2 separate regions of the Homo sapiens genome follow, and region 1 is linked to region 2. Evidence: promoter capture Hi-C in human tissues and cell types (Jung and others, 2019). All regions are on one chromosome and are shown on one strand. The core of a region is centred on a gene start or on the middle of the fragment in contact, and the rest is flanking DNA. Distances in the headings are between cores, read along the strand shown.

Region 1 (4,913 bases), core at 1,701-4,200, 390 kb after region 2:
GATGGTGAAATGCCTCTGCGCCCACACCCTTTTCATTTATACCCGTAGATGGTAGCGGTCTGGTTTTCCTTGGGTGCTCCTCAGTGGTTTCCAAAGACTATGATGGGACAACTCAGCAGCGTTTCCCGTCAGGCACTTTGATAGGTCATTTTACTTTCAACAACTAAACAAAGTTTCCTGGGAAGACTGAGAGTCAAAAGAAACTACATTTGAAAGTGTGGCGTAAATAAGAAAACAAAAAAACAAAACTTGACTTGAGCAGTCTTACAATCTCCCTAAGCTGCATGGAGTGCAAGTGGGTTTGCTGTGCAGATGCTAGAGTCCCCTGGCCCCTCCCTCCAATCAGATTACTGCCCCAAGCTTTCTCTATACAGAGATTTCGGGGGGTTCCACTACTGAGGTCTCTCTGGGTCTCAGGAAGTAGAGGGGTGATCCTGGTCTACGAAATGCATTAATGTCCGTGGTCAGGAAGTTCTTTGTATTTGTCCATCTGAACCAGCAAAGCCCAATCTCTCCAACCTTTTCTCCCTTTAGAAAAGATCCATTTCTGCCGGGCGTGGTGGCTCACACCTGTGAGGGGTGAGCACTTTGGGAGGCCGAGGTGGGAGGATTACAAGGTCAAGAGATCGAGACCATCCTGCCCAACATGGTGAAACCCCGTCTCTACTAAAAATACAAAAATTAGCTGGGCGTGGTGGCACACGCCTGTAGTCCCAGCTACTCGGTAGGCTGAGGCAGGAGAATCTCTTGAACCCATGAGGCAGAGGTTGCAGTGAGCCGAGATCGTGCCACTGCACTTCAGCCTGGGTGACAGAGTGAAACTCTGTCCCCTTCCACCAAAGAAAAACCAAAACAAAAAGAAAAGAACCATTTCTTTGATCATGGGTTCAAATGCAATAAAAACTATCAGGCTGTAATACCAGAAGGCTCAAGAGGGAGTGGAAAGCCTCCAGTTTCAAAGGGAAAGTCCAGAAAAAACTGGACTGATTCTTAAAAGTAGTGTATGAAGGTGAGATACATTCCACTGAAGGCATTTAGGTATCACTCCAAGGAGGGTCTCTGGAGAGCAAGTGCACTTGGGCGTGTTTTATGTAATAGCTGGATGATGAGGGCAAGTATTATGATTATAACTATTGCTTAAATAATATCTCCTGAAACCCCAATGAAAAAAGATAATGGTCTGTTCTAGGTTTTAATTGCTAAAAGGAAAACAAAACTGTCATTCGTGGTGTGGTTGGTTCTCAGACCTACTGCTGTCAGTAAATACTGAACAAATGAAACTACAGATTCATTTCAAAATTTCAACAGATTCCTGGGCCACAAAGCCTTTCCCTTTCGTGTTCAAATGATATTTTTTTATTTTTATTTTTTGAGACAGACGTCTGCTCTGTCACCCAGGCTGGAGTGCAGTGGCTGGATCTTGGCTCACTGCAACCTCTGCCTCCTGGGTTCAAGCGATTCTTGTACCTGAACCTCCTGAGTAGCTGGGACTACAGGCATGCGCCACCACGCCTTGCTAACTGTTATATTTTTAGTAGAGATAGGGTTTTGCCATGTTACCCAGGCTGGTCTTAAACTCCTGGCCTCAAGTGATTTGCCCAGCTCGACCTCCCAAAGCGTTGGGATTACAGGCATGAGCCATCTCACCTGGCCGATATTTCAAGTAAGTTGAAATTCAGGCCTACTAGGCCCAAATATCTCATTATATTTGGGGTATCCAACAAATCTTTACTCTTGCATATTAACAGTAGACATTCTGAGATTATAATGCCTGACGTAATTGGGATGCAGAGAAGAGGAAAGGTGACCATTTGCAGGATAGGAAAACAGGGACCATCTGGTGAAGGGTTGGTTCCAACAAAGTCCACAAGTTTTCATTGTTTCATCTTGAAAAGGTAAGGGGACATAGGAGCTCTCTGTATGATTTCTTATCACTGCATGTGAATCTAATTATCTCAAAATTAAAAAAATAGTTAAAGACAAGGGGAGAAACTTTTTGGAAATGGAACTTTTGAATATTATTACTTTTAACCATGCAGCCCCTTGGTGGCTAAAGGAGGCACAGGTTTTTTGTTGCCCTGTGCAGGGGTAAAATAAGCTTGGGATGATGAGCTTCTCTTTTATTTTTTTGAGACGGAGTCTCGCTTTGTCTTCCAGGCTGGAGTGCAGTGGCATAATCTTGGCTCACTGCAACTTCCTCCTCCCAGGTTTAAGCAATTCTCCTGCCTCAGCCTCCCCGGTAACTGGGATTACAGGCGCGTGCCACCATGCCCAGCTAAATTTTTATTTTTAGTTAGAGATGGGGTTTCACCATCTTGGCCAGGCTGGTCTTGAACTCCTAACCTCGTGATCCACCCGCCTTGGCTTCCCAAAGTGCTGGGATTACACGTGTGAGCCACTGTGCCCGGCCTGAGCTTCTAAGTGTTTAAGCTTCTGAAATGGGTTTACTCCATGCTTTCCTCTCCCAATCCAGTAATATGGAAGCTTCGGTAACTTCCAATTTAAGGAAGCAAGTCCAAGCACTTTTATTTTTATCACCACCAGTAATATAAACAGCCACTTTACTTTGGAAAGCTGACCAGGAAGAAGCCTCTTTTGCACCTCTTTGGGGTCAAAAAGTAACAATTTAATATTCCCACTATTTCCCTTATATGTTCTGTTTCTGGACAGTAAAATTCTTTCCTTGAAGGACATTAGGGCCAAAATGGGCAAGGATTCCGAGATTGGTACATCGAGCGTTATCTTCCAACTCTCTTTTCTAAATGGGCTCATTTAGTAATGCAAGCTGCTTCCTTTACTTGAAATGCCCATCTCTTGGTTACCCTCCCAAGCAAACAGAAACACCAACCAGCCAGCCCCAAAAAGATCTCATTCTCTAGCCCAGTGGTTCCCAAACTCTTGAGTCTCAAGATCTTTTTCCACACTTAAAATTTAAGGATTCAAGCTGGGCGCGGTGGCTCACGCCTGTAATCCCAGCACTTTGGGAGGCTGACGCCAGCGGATAACGAGGTCAGGAGTTTGAGACCAGCCTGACCAACATGGTGAAACCCCGTCTCTACTAAAAATACAAAAATTAGCCAGGTATGGTGGCGGGTGCCTGTAATCCCAGATACTCAAGAGGTGAGGCAGGAGAATCGCTTGAACCCGGGAGGCAGAGGTTTCAGTGAGCCGAGATCGTGCCACTGCACTCCAGCCTGGGCAACAGAGTAAGACTCCGTTGGAGACCATCACGGACAACGTGGCAAAACCTCATCTCTACAAAAAATACAGGTGGGCATGGTGGCGCCCACCTGTATTCCTAGCTACTCAAGAGGCTAATTGCTTGAGCCCAGGAGGTTAAAGCTGCAGTGAGCCTTGATTGCACGGCACTCCAGCCTGGGCAACAGAGTGAGACCCTATCTCAAAAGAACAACAAAAAAGAGAATAAACCCATTACATGTCAACATAAATCCTATTTTTATGAGAAATACCTACATTTTCTAAAATAAAATTAGTGGTAAGTGTGAGATTGTTTTAGTTTTGCAAATCACTTTAATATCTGACAGTAGAAGACTGCTGGATTCTTCTCTGCTTCTGAATCTTCTGCATTCAGCCTGTTGTGAGATCACGTATCTTGCAGCCTCTGGAAAACACTGCACACAGAGTGCAGTGTTGGGAGAAATTGACATATCATTGCTATAAAAATAGTTCTGAAGTCAGGTGTGGTGGCTTATGCCTGTAATCCGTGCACTTCAAGAGGCTGAGGTGGGAGGATCACTCGAGCTCAGGAGTTTGAGACCAGCCTGGGCAACAAGGTGAGACCCTGTCTCTACAAAACTTAAAAATTAGCTGGGCATGGTGGTGCATGCTTGTGGTTCTAGCTACCGGGGAGGCTGAGGTGGGAGGATTACTGCAGCCCAGGAGTTCGAGGCTACAGTGAGCTTTGATGGCACTACTGCACTCCAGCCTGGGCGACAGAGCAGGACCCTGTCTAAAAAAGTTTTGACTTTTGGGTCCCTTGAGTCTTGGGGCTCCCTCTGCTCGACCAAGGTCCCTAGAGAACCACTGTTTTGAGAACCACTGTTGTGGCCTGAGGCTAAGGTAATTTCAATGGTGATGGTGTTGAGGCCCAGGTGATGTTTGTGACCTTCTCCGGTGTTCCCATCGCACCTGTCCTGCTGCTGCTTATGTTTGTGAACCTGGCCAAGTTGGGAGTCTCTTGAAGGAAGACACTCAACTTTATTCACCTTTCTTTCAATTTAAATGAGTGTTTTAATGATAAAAGTAACATAGAGGCCAGGCGTGGTGGCTCATGCCTGTAATCCCAGCACTTTGGGAGGCTGAGGCAGGCGCATCACTGGAGGTTGGGAGTTTGAGACCACCCTGACCAACATGGAGAAACCCTGTCTCTATTAAAAATACAAAATTAGCTGAGCATGGTGGCGCATGCCTGTAATCCCAGCTACTCTGGAGGTTGAGGCAGGAGAATCGCTTGAACCCGGGAGGCAGAGGTTGCGGTGAGCCGAGATTGCGCCATTGAACTCCAGCCTGGACAACAAGAGTGAAACTCCATCTCAAAAAAACAAAACAAAAAAAAAACCAAAAAACAACAACAAAAACAGCTATATTATAGAAAATAGGCAATTAAAAAAAACTCACTTATAATCCCCCATACGTCATTTATTTGGTGTATGTTATCAGTCTATTTTTTTTTTTTTTGAGGTGGAGTCTTGCTCTTGTCACCCAAGCTGGAGTGCAGTGGTGCGATATTGGCTCACTGCAACCTCTGCCCGCTGGGTTCAAGCAATTCTCTTGCCTCAGCCTTCCAAGTAGCTGAGACCTCAGGCGCCTGCCACCTTGCCCACCTAATTTTTATATTTTTAGTGGAGACGGGGTTTTGTCATGCTGGCCAGGCTGGTCTCGAACTCCTGGCT
Region 2 (5,484 bases), core at 2,557-5,056:
GTGTCCAGTAAAGCATTGTTAAATTCATGGGCTTGGCTGTGCTAGGCCAGGAGGCTCCTCTTTCAACTTGGGGTGTCAGCTCAGATGTCCTTAAAGGGCTCCCCATCCTAGTACAGTCACTCTCCAGTGTCCTGCGGTTTCTCTGAGTCAAGCCGATGGAACCACAGCCTTCTCTTCACAGGCCTACCCCTACCACCACTCCCGCCTACTCCTTTGGCAGTCACGCTCTGCACCTGAGGCTCACCTGCTCACTCATGAGCAGGGGCAGCCAAGCATCCTCCTCACCAGTCGTCTGGCCAAGGCAGCCACTTAGAAACAATATGCAATTGGCCAGGCACGGTGGCTCATGCCTGTAATTCTCAGCACTTTGGGAGGCCGAGGCGGGCAGATCATCTAAGGTCAGGAGTTCGAGACTAGCCTGGCCAACATGGTGAAACCCCATCTCTACTAAAAATACAAAAATTAGCTGGGCACGGTGGTGCACGCCTGTAGTCCCAGCTACTCGGGAGGCTGAGACAGGAGAATCACTTGAACAAAGGAGGCAGAGGTTGCAGTTAGCCGAGAGTGTGTCACCGCACTCCAGCCTGGGTGACAGAGTGAGACTCCATCTCCAAAAAATAAAGAAACAATATGCAATTGTGAACCTGAGATAGCAGACTTGGTTTACAGTGGGTAAGAAAAAGCACACACACGGGCCAGGCGCAGTGGCTCACGCCTGTAATCCCAGCACTTTGGGAGGCCGAGGCGGGCAGATCACCTGAGGTCAGGAGTTCAAGACCAGCCTGGCCAACATGGTGAAACCCCGTCTCTACTAAAAATACAAAAATTAGCCAGACATGATGGCGGGTACCTATAATCCCAGCAACTCAGGAGGCTGAGGTGGAAGAATCGCTTGAACCCAGGAGGCAGAGGTTGCAGTGAGCTGAGATCGTGCCATTGCATTCCAGTCTGGGTGACAGAGCGAGACTGTCTCAAAAACAAACAAACAAACAAACAAAAAGCACACACTTACTGTATGGAAGTGTCTAAAGCTATACAAAAATCTAGTAACTAGGCTAGGAGCAGTGGCTCACGCCTGTAATCCCAGCACTTTGAGAGGCTGAGGCGGGAGGATCACCTGAGGTCAGGAGTTCAAGACCAGCCTGGCCAACATGATGAAACCCCATCTCTACTAAAAATACAAAAATTAGCTGGGCGTGGTGGCGCACGCCTGTAGTCCCAGCTACTCAGGAGGCTGAGGCACAAGAACTTTTTCCAGCTGGGTGCGGTGGTTCACACCTGTAATCCCAGCACTTTGGGAGGCCGAGGAGGGCAGATCACAGATCACCTGAGGTCAGGAGTTCGAGACCAGCCTGGCCAACATGGAGAAACCCCATCTCTACTAAAAACACAAAAATTAGCCAGGCGTGGTGGCGCACTCTTGTAGTCCCAGCTACTCGGGAGGCTGAGGCCCAAGAATCACTTGAGCCCAGGAGGCAGGGGTTGCAGTGAGCTGAGATCGGGCCACTGCACTCCAGCCCGGGTGACAGAGTGAGACTCTGTCTCAAAAAACAAAAAATCTAGTAACTGTTAGAAGCTGGGTGAAAAAAGACAACATGTATAAATTGGCTATTCACCACCCTGAAGAAGTAAATAAAAGGCCAGCCTTCCACGGGAAGATTTAAATCAAGGTTTCCTTTATTCAGGAGAGGGGTGGGAAGAATACTGGATCTGGAGTCAGAAGACTTGGGCAGGGGCTGTCCCTGGATCTCCTGGAGCAGGATGACCTTACACAGTTACTCAACTCCCAAAACTGCCATTTCCTCCTCCACACAGGTAAGGGTGGCACTACCGACCATCAACCTCCCAGGGAATTGGGCAAACCAAGTGGGATGAGACAGGTATAAGCTCTTTGCAAACCATGGAGCCCAAGTTTCCCAGCCAATACTCAGCAGAGCTGATTCAGGAACCTGATGCAGGCTGTCTGTCTCCAGTTATTTCCTTTTTTTTTTTTGCCCCGCTTTCCCCACCTCCAGAGTCGATGGGACCAGAACAGCCACAGAGCCAAAGTCAAAGGGGCAGGGCTCCCCCAAAGACGTTCCCCCTCTGGAAAAGTCAAAACCGACCTTGAGGTAAGGAGAGGCCCTCGACCAGGCCAGAAGATGAGACTGAGAGTCAAGAATCGCCATAGACCCAGGACTTGCTATATGCCCAGCCTTCCTGGAGATGTCAACATCTACAGGAAAGTAACTTGCTTCTATTGGACTTGGCTTGAGCCCAAGGTCAGTCTGTGATGCCCAACCCCCAAATGTGAGGAACCCACTACCAAAACAGAAAGCAGCTCTCACTCCTGGTAGTTCATCAAGCAGGATAGGACCGGTCGCAGGCCACAGAGCCTGTGTGCAGTGGCTGAAAACCTAGACTCCTTGTCCTCACTTAGCTCATGCACAAATGCCAGCCTGCTGCTTCCGATTCTGCCGAAGAGAACTGCAGAGTAACCTTCAGGCTGCCCTCCCCACCTCCTATGGGAAATGAGCTTGTTCATGATCTCCAGCCTCCAGCTTCCTCTGGGGGCCTGCATCTATCTACTCAGTACCTGGTGGAAGAAGAGGGGGTGCTCTAGAAGGACAACCCTTTGCCTCTATTGTGTAAGATGCTTTCAGGCCCAACAGACCACTGATTCCCTTTTCTTCATAGTAAACTGTTAGAGGTAGACAGTATTATCTGTTCTTCCTTTCAACACCTGCCCTCCCCCAAACCGAAGCAGTGCACTGAAGACGGTAGCTCTGCAACCTCCTCCCACAGGGGCACCCACCGAGGGGCTCGCGCGGCTCTGGGCACCTCCCCTCCACCTCTGGGGGCTTTGGTTAGCGCAGCACAACCGCCGAGGTAATGATCCCGAATCCTCGAGGAGGCTAAGCAGGACCACGGGGCTGAGGCTCCGGGATGCTCGGGCGAGGCCCGAGGCGGGGCGGCCCACGGGCGCCGGTCGCCGGGCTCTGGAGCTGTGCATTGACCTCCGCCCGCCCCGTCCCTGCCTGGCTTTCTCGCCCAAACGGCCCGTGGCGCGGCCGCCGCCCTGGAGATGCGGCCAGGAGGAGCCGGCTGGAGGCGGGCGGGGGCCGCCCGGCTTGTGCGGCATCGCGAGTCGCATCCCGGCCGGGCGGGCGTCCGGGGCGGCGGCGCGGAAGGCCGTGCGGGGAATCGGCGGGCGGGGGCGGCCTCGGCGGGTGGGGACCACAGAGCCAAGCGGGGCAGGCCTGGGGCGGTGACCGGCGCGCCTGGCCGCTGCAGGCTGCGCGCGGGCCCTCTCTTACCGGCAGATCTGGATGGCGGACGGCGTCTCGACGTCTGGGCCCGACATGCTGGGGGCTGCGGCGGCGGATGCGGCGGGCGGCTGCAGAAGGGCGCAGGTGTCTGGCAGGCCCGGCGCGGAATGAATGAGCCCGGGCCGCGCCATAAAGGGGGAGGGCAGAGGTGGAGCGATGGGGCTGGTGAGGCGGGGCCTGCGCGCCGGGGGCAATCGAACGCGGCCTCCCCGCGCCGACCCCGCCCCCGCGCCGGCCCCACCCCGAGCCCCGCCTCCCAGGCCGCCAAGGCTGCAGAGAGCTCGCGCGGGCGTACGATTCTGGCGGCGTGGGGGCCCAGGCAGCCGCCGCTTCCAGAAGGTTCGGTGGCGGTTGGGCCGCGCCGGTGCGGGGAAGGCCCGCTAGCCGCGGCAGCCGCGCCCGACCCGGTGGCAGCCCCGAGGGAAGCGTCTGGGGCGGCCTAAGTGGCGGAGCAGGGCGGACTTGGGCCCTCACTCTCCGCGCGGCGGTAAATATTTGTGCTGGGCGTTCCCGGCCGCCCGCGCCGCCGATTCGCTGCCGCGCCCAGTGCCTGGGCGGCCGGATGAGGTCAGAGCGGAAGGCGCGGCCCGGGCTCCTGGCAGTGGGGCCTGATTCCCACCCCCGCCCCCAACCCACCCCGGCACCAGTCGCCCGCATCGCGGCTCTCGCTAAGATCGGCCCTAAGAGAGAATGGAAGGCTGTTTCCTAGAAAGGAGCATTGGTGGCGGCTGCTGGGAAGACACGGGGAATGGAACGGGCCTTTGCTTCCGCAGCACAAAGCGTCACGAGGTGGGGAGGAGGAAAGGCCGGCGACTATCTACACCGCCGCCTGCAGCTTTTACTGGGAGCGCTGAGCGCCAGCCTGGAGGTGCACGTGTTGCAGTGAGGAGCCCTGAAACATGCGTGTTTTACTGCACAAGATGTGCCCTTGAATGGAGTCTAGGCCAGTCGGGGTCACCAAAAAAAATCCACCAAAAAACACCCAAGAAGGGAGAAGCGGTCACCCCCCACGTGCTGGAATGACAGCTTTTTACTTGCTAGGCAGTTGGACCTTTTCCGAATTTTCTACAATGCACATAGATTTGTACTTACATCTTTAAATTAAAACCCACGCAACTCCGGCTCCCTAGTGCAATTTGAACAACCCATTTACACTCAGCTAGGTAGCTCTGAAGGAACTGTGCCTCACCCCGGTCACCCTTGAGTTACCAGACCGTGGAGGCAGCCCACAGCATGATCTGTAGCTCCCAGAAGCAGGGGCAGTCAAAGTCAGAACTCTGTGATTTCAAGACTTTTATACTAAGAATTTTGTTTTTCTGTTTTCTTTTTTTTTTTTTTTTTTTGAGACGGAGTCTTGCTCTGTTGCCCAGGCTGGAGTGCAGTGGTGCAATCTCAGCTCACTGCAAGCTCCGCCTCCCAGGTTCACGCCATTCTCCTGCCTCAGCCTCCCAAGTAGCTGGGACTACAGGCGCCTGCCACCACGCCCGGCTAATTTTTTGTATTTTTAGTAGAGACGGGGTTTCACTGTGTTAGCCAGGATGGTCTTGATCTCCTGACCTTGTGATCTGCCCGCCTCTGCCTCCCAAAGTGGTGGGATTACAGGCGTGAGCCACCACGCCTGGCCTGTTTTCTTTTTTTGATATAGAGTCTCGTTCTGTCGCCCAGGCTGGAATGCAGTGGTGTGATAGCTCACTGTAACCTCTGCCATCCAGTTTCAAGCAATTCTCCTGCCTCAACCACACTGAGTAGCTGGGACCATAGGCATGCACCACCACGTTTGGCTTATTTTTGTATTTTTAGTACAGATGTGTCCAGAATTGGTGGGTTCTTGGTCTCACCGACTTCAAGAATGAAGCCGCGGACCCTCGTGGTGAGTGTTACAGCTCTTAAGGTGGCGCATCTGGAGTTTCTTCCTTCTGGTGGGTTCGTGGTCTCCCTGGCTCAGGAGTGAAGCTGCAGACCTTCACAGTGAATGTTAACGGCTCATAAAGGCAGTGTGGACCCAAAGAGCGAAAGAACAACACTCCTACAGCGTGGAAGGGGACCAGAGTGGGTTGCCACTGCTGGCTCGGGCAGCCTGCTTTTATTCTCTCATCTAGCCCTACCCACATCCTGCTGATTGGTAGAGCAGAGTGGTCTGTTTTGACAGGGTGCTGATTGGTGTGTTTACAATCCC

What was found. The method cuts DNA at HindIII sites, captures the fragments that hold promoters and counts their contacts. A contact is called where the count stands out against the background at its distance.
Region 1: a fragment that was not itself captured here is called in contact with the fragment with the promoter of ACOT7 in region 2 in 1 of the 25 tissues and cell types used here (pancreas).

What each region holds. Positions count from the first base shown.
Region 1 is chr1:6,778,347-6,783,259 of GRCh38, forward strand. No RefSeq gene overlaps it. Among named protein-coding and RNA genes, the nearest start is that of CAMTA1-DT, 4.2 kb to the right of the region's middle. The HindIII fragment of the contact is 3,443 bases long and covers 1,230-4,672 here.
Region 2 is chr1:6,389,961-6,395,444 of GRCh38, forward strand. ACOT7 (acyl-CoA thioesterase 7) reads right to left here and starts at 3,807. Exons shown (of 9, transcript NM_007274.4): 1 at 3,297-3,807. The coding sequence starts at 3,439. RefSeq lists silencers at 3,118-3,207, 3,478-3,927 and enhancers at 3,156-3,667, 3,668-4,180, 4,181-4,691, 5,444-5,484. The HindIII fragment of the contact is 35,573 bases long and covers 1-5,484 here.